Linked DNA regions of Homo sapiens: region 2 is linked to region 1. Evidence: promoter capture Hi-C in human tissues and cell types (Jung and others, 2019). All regions are on one chromosome and are shown on one strand. Each heading gives the region's core, a stretch centred on a gene start or on the middle of the fragment in contact. The rest is flanking DNA. Distances are from core to core; before and after follow the strand shown. Region 1 holds the start of DIRC1 (disrupted in renal carcinoma 1). Region 2 overlaps LOC105373790 (a long non-coding RNA gene).

Evidence for each region. Contacts are between HindIII fragments. The study calls those that stand out against the background at their distance.
Region 2: a fragment that was not itself captured here is called in contact with the fragment with the promoter of DIRC1 in region 1 in 4 of the 25 tissues and cell types used here (IMR-90 fibroblasts, bladder, mesenchymal stem cells and 1 more).

The regions. Positions count from the first base shown.
Region 1 is chr2:188,788,640-188,791,662 of GRCh38, forward strand. DIRC1 (disrupted in renal carcinoma 1) reads right to left here and starts at 1,484. Exons shown (of 2, transcript NR_161166.1): 1 at 1,224-1,484. The HindIII fragment of the contact is 6,834 bases long and covers 1-3,023 here.
Region 2 is chr2:188,673,785-188,676,807 of GRCh38, forward strand. The region is part of intron 2 of LOC105373790 (a long non-coding RNA gene); the gene reads left to right. Among named protein-coding and RNA genes, the nearest start is that of DIRC1, 110 kb to the right of the region's middle. RefSeq lists an enhancer at 327-827. The HindIII fragment of the contact is 4,093 bases long and covers 1-3,023 here.

The DNA of each region.
Region 1 (3,023 bases), core at 234-2,733:
ATTCACAAATACAAAGAAATATGTCTAATCAAACTTCATTGAAATAACACAATTACCTCCTTTCCCTAATGTTTGGCTGTAAGCAAAATCCAAGAGCTGTATCTTTTATTTTTCTTTGTGTTAGTTCCTGTTCATGTGTGGGAGAACATTGGTCAGTGACTCACATTACTGACACACAGCCAGCACAGCTGGATAGGCACAGAATGCATTTCATAATAAAAGGGACAAAGAAAGAAAGATAGAGAAAAAAGTTTATGTGTTTGGTTTATTTTAAAAATCTATACAGCTTAATGCTAAAAAGCAAGAACCAAATTTTTCTAAACAAACAGCTTCAAGGAAAAATAATTTTGGAGGGACTAATTAAAATTACTTTAAGAACTCTTAATATGTAAAATACTTCTTTAAGGCAGCTATTCCCTGTGGAAATCTTACCCTCTCCCATGAAAAAGAACCAGCAATTTATGACTGTCATGAGAGTAAAACTCTAGTGAGAATTTAGAAGTACACACAATAAAATAAAAATACTCCACAATAGTTTTGAACTCTTGAAGAAAATGACAGGAATAGTATTATGTGTAACCAAATATATATATATACACACACATATATATACGTATATATACATATATACGTATATATATACACATATATACGTATATATACATATATACGTATATATATACACATATATACGTATATATACACATATATACGTATATATACACATATATACGTATATATACACATATATACGTATATATACACATATATACGTATATATACATATATATACGTATATATACACACATATATATACACATATATATATATATACTCAGAAATATCTGCACTCCAGCTTTGAAAATGTGAGTTAGCTGACACATAACAATGTCAAAGAAGACACATTTTTACAGAAGAACTTTCCTTAAATAAAATAACATTTCCCAATCCATTAAATGTAAATGACATAGTCACTTATCATATATTTTGTCTATGCTGTATAGAAGTTAAATTAAGTTGTTCGCTGTATACTTAAAACTAAAGGTTTTAGGATATGAGGTACTTTACAGCATGTCTATTATCACTAGTAAGAAAAGACTCTATAAATGTAAAAGGAAAGATCACTTCTTCAGACTATGTTAATAGAGTAGACTGTCCTGGCCTAAAATCTTATGATTGAGAAATGAGTGCCATAGCCAACCCACCATTTTGACAGAGCTCACCTGAATTTTTCCTTCTGGTGATGAGAAGCAATGCCAGAATTTCTACTCCAGCCATCTTCACACTTGTGGAGAGAAATTCAATAGTGATACATTTGTAGTGAGGAGAAAGATGTGTTAGCTTAACAACTGATGCAGGGTCTATCTTTTAAGGAAGATATTGTGTTTGTGGAGGAAAACATCTTGGAAGGTATTTAGAAGTGGAAAGTAAGACTTTAAGGGCAAGAGAAACTCTGCCCATGTCAAGAGACACAACTAAACTGCTTTGTATTTGGAAATCAATAGGAATTTGGAGAGAGAAACTAAAAACATGAGTAATCAACAAAAGATGATTTAACCTACATGATCGGAATCTGAAGCCCAAGATTTGGAAGGAGAGAGGGAACTTTAGGAACATCAATATCTAACATAGAATATTACATCTTGAGCCTTTTGGCAGTGTAAATCTCTACATCCCCTATAACTCAGTAGTCCTTTACACATATAAGAGTTTCTATAAGTAGTTTGGCATAACTAAGAAAAAGTATAGTGATCCACATCTAAAACAATATAATGCAAAACATAATAATACATATTGGACATTTAGATTATCCCTAAACTGATTCACACTAAGCAGGACTTAAGAGCTGAAAGTGATCATAAATTCTGATGAAATTTGAAAATTCTTGAGATACAGGTTGAACTCAGTGGAAAATACATTGAATCAATCTTACTGATCTCAAAAGGCAGGGAAATGCTGTTGAAATTTAGTTTACATAATTATTTTCTCTTTTTCTGGCTGTCCTTAAAGCTAACACTTGGCATGATACTAAAAACATTGTTTTAAGAGAAAATCTATTGTGGACAAATACAAGCTTTAGGAATAAATTAAAATGTTTAGAGGAATTAACACATCTGTGTAAAATTTTACATGTGTGCCAAACTGGTCCCCAAGCTAAAACTAGTGACATATTAAAACCCAACATATTAGCTCACACATTTACAATGAAATACAACACTTTTCGTAATACTATAGTTTGTGACAGTTCAAGAAGTGATGAATTGGAAAACATGCTATGATAGGCATGGGCAATTTAGAGCTCAGTCTGGACAATCGGTGATGATTAATCTTAAGAGGATTTCTGAAGTTCAGGCAACAAATGATTAAAAATCAACTTCAACAATAGTCAATGATGGCTGAATGTAAGATATTTAAACATGCATTGGAAAATACAATGGAACTAATTGTAGTCATGGACATTGAGAGAAGACTTCTGGATTCAGACAAATTTTTGCTCACTCAAATCCCTGTAACATTGTTTACCTTATATTACATGTCATAAATTGACTACGTTATGAAATAGGAAGGGTAATATCTATTTTTAAATGTAATAATTATAAACAATGTATAAAATATGTGACACAAAGAAGACTGGCAGTTTATAGTGACTATTGTATTATTATTTTGATTTTAGTAGTTGAACAGGAAAAAGAGAGAACAGCACAGACTGAAGTATTTATATCTCAATAATTAAACTTACTTAATATTTTCTATTATACATTTACCTAAAAAGTACAGGGCTGATACTTCCATATTTATATGGAATAACAGTTCTTAAAATATATAAAGCAAAATATTATTGAAATAAAGAGATGATCGATAAACTTGTAAAATTATCATCAGAGATGTAAATACCACCTCTACAATAGGTAGACCAAAATTAGTAAAGATACAAAATAATTTAACAACACAATAAACTTGAACTAATTAAAATACAAGGTCTCTATCCCAAAGAACTACAAAATAAATATCCTTTTTAAGTA
Region 2 (3,023 bases), core at 345-2,844, 110 kb before region 1:
ATTTCCCTATATGCCAGAGACACAAACTGAGTCAATAATTTATCTGCTTCCAAAATTATAGCTGATGCAGTTTTTAAAAATGTTTGGCCACAGCATCCCGTCACTGTCCTTCTAACTTCTAGTAGCAGTTTTTCACCATCTAGTACATGGACATGAGGCTAGTGCTGCCTGCTTAAGGTTTTCTGATATAGTAGTACTCATCTTGTCTATCAGTCAGGACACATAAAATTATATAATCTCTCTAAAGATTGTGGTGTAAAGATGTTTATTTTCTCACACTGCATATGTCCATTAGGAGTAAGTCCATGCAAGAATAATGATAAATCTGTTATTAGATCCTAGAACATTATACAGTAGCAAAATATTTTGTAAAACAGTAATAGCCTGTAGTTTTCACTCCAGGAATTAGGGTGAAAAAATAGCCTCTCTCTGGAACATAGCAAGCCTCATGACACAGGGACAAAAGAAAAATGAACTTGAAGCTTCTGTTCAGGAGTGGCACACATCGCTTCCACAAACAATTAATTGGCTAAAGCAAATCACCTGAAGCTCTTGTGTTTAAAGGGCAGATGCTCTGCCAGGGGGGAGAAGAAATACTCATGAAAGTAATAAAAGATTACTTTTGCCTTTCTCCTTCATTGACTCTATTTTTCAGACAGACATGAGCAGGGCAGGAGATGGTGAACCTGCAAGCAGGAATGTCAGGCGACCATCAGGTGATGTTCAGGCGGTTGTTAACTGTCTCTCTAAAATAATAGTTGGTTGCAGCCAGCACGAGGGAAAGGCAGTCTCCCCGTAGATAGAAAATACCTAAAAAAATTGGTGATCAACAGCTTGCCTGTAAGATCTCAGGAGTTGCATGAGTGAGCTCGAGCATGCACACTAAGAGGCAAAACGGTGAAGTTTAACTGGTATATGACCTCCTAGGGACATTTGGCTGGTAAGGGAAGAATACCTCAAGTGAACATGCCTGCAACTCCAGTAAACGCACCTTGCACTCTCCTCCCAAGTGCTATCAGGCCACTGCACATGCAGATAGCCCACTACAAGCAAAGAATCAGGGGAGAAAAGAGGCAGACCTTGGAAGTATGCCAACGTATGAAACCCCAAGTCAAAAGGTCAAATGCACACTTGGCTTTCTCAAGTAGCCCACCTGTCCCTCTTCCAACTATAATTTCCTTCCTTTTATTTCTGCTCTAAAGCTTTTTAATAAACTTTCACTCCTGCTCTAAAATTTGCTTTAATTTCTGCCTTATGCACTTCAGTCAAATTCTTTCTTCTGAGGAGGTAAGAATTGAGGTACTGTAGACCCATATAGATTCGCCGCCGGTAACGTTTTGGTGCGGTGTGACTGGGATAATTTCCACTCCTAATATATTCTGTCTGTGGAATTCTTGGTTTTAACTTTCTGAGTGTTTTGGCTGTATGTCCTAGGATATTGCTCTGAATTTATCTTCCATATGATTAATTTAGTCTTCAACAGTGTTTATTCTGTTATTTTATTTTTAATCAAGCTTAAATATTATAATTAATTCTGAAGTGGGTACTTAGTTTTTTTTATTTTTTAGTTTGTATTTTAGCTTGTTGTTTTTTAGTTTGTCTCTGATTCACACCAGTCTGCTAAATTTGAAGGTAAAATCTGTGCAGATGCATAGAGCATATTGATAAGAAAGATTCAATAGAAATACAAGGTGAAGGATGCAGACAATGCATTTGACTTTCTCAACTGTTAAAACAGGAGAAACTTGCTCTGGAAAGAGACTACTTTCATGATTTTTTTTTCCTTCCTGGCATCTTCAGATAAGACATTCTCCAAATTTTTGTGGATTCCCCCAAACTCTAATTAACAAAAGAATGGAAAAAAGAAAAAGAACCTTCTTAAGAAATAAGTAAGTATGAAGCATGAAGTTCTCTGTATTTTAGCTTGGAAAACTCAACCCAACAATATTTGGATGAGAATATTAAAGCTCCCTCTCTCCTTTACTTATACTATACAATTAAATGACTAGGCAAAGACCCTTAGTCATTCTCCCAGAGCAACATAATAATTTATGGGGCCAGATGAAAAATCTGAGTCACTCTCATTGTTGGGATAGATAATTCTACCAGCAACTGAGCCCAGTAATTTAGATGTATAGTGGTAAATAAATGATGGCTTTTTAACTCTTGTTGACTAAGAATCATTTATGTATTTATTTCTCTCTCTTAATGCTTAGTACTTAAACATTATGTTACTGTACTTTCAGCAATGGCCTTGTGAGTAAACAATTATCAGTGGGGGGTGAAATTGTGGAAAGGGGAAGTAAAAAATGTTAAGGATGCAATTTCTTAGTGAAAAATGAATGTGCAGATATGTAAAAATATCTTGGTGTGTGACCATGGTTTTGTCTCACATGGGTTACTTCTGTAGCTCTGACTCAGACTCATGTGCTTCTCAAAATCCATTTTCAAAGGAGATTATCCCATGTTTTACTGTTATATATCAGATTACTTTCTCTAACAGTGGTCTGTTCCAGCATTCACTGGCTCCACCCTCCTGGGAAGTTATGTTTCTATTTTTTCAAACAATTCTGCTCTTCTATAATGTTACGATACTTTTGTCTGTTTCTTTAGTACTGTATACCCATATCCCTAGATCATAGCAGGCATTTAATATATTTCATTGAATAAATTAAAAATGCATAAATTGGGCACCTAATTGTACATCTGGTGATAAATATCTCCCTAAATGTGCACTGTTCAGAGGAGTCAAATCATAATTAAAACCACTTTAGGATGAGCGGCCAATCTGTTTGATGGCGAAGCCATTCTGTCATGCCATTTTAATTATAATGATTCTCGTCAAAATGTTCTAGAAATTTGATTCCAAGATTTTGGTAGATTAATGTCTTGTTGACATTTTAGGAATTGGCGTTCACTTTTCCTGAATTCATTTTTACCTTGAACTTGATGTGGTATTTGTCATATTTTATGTTTCAGGTATTTGCTACCATTGCTTATAATCATCAAGTAACCAAACCTTA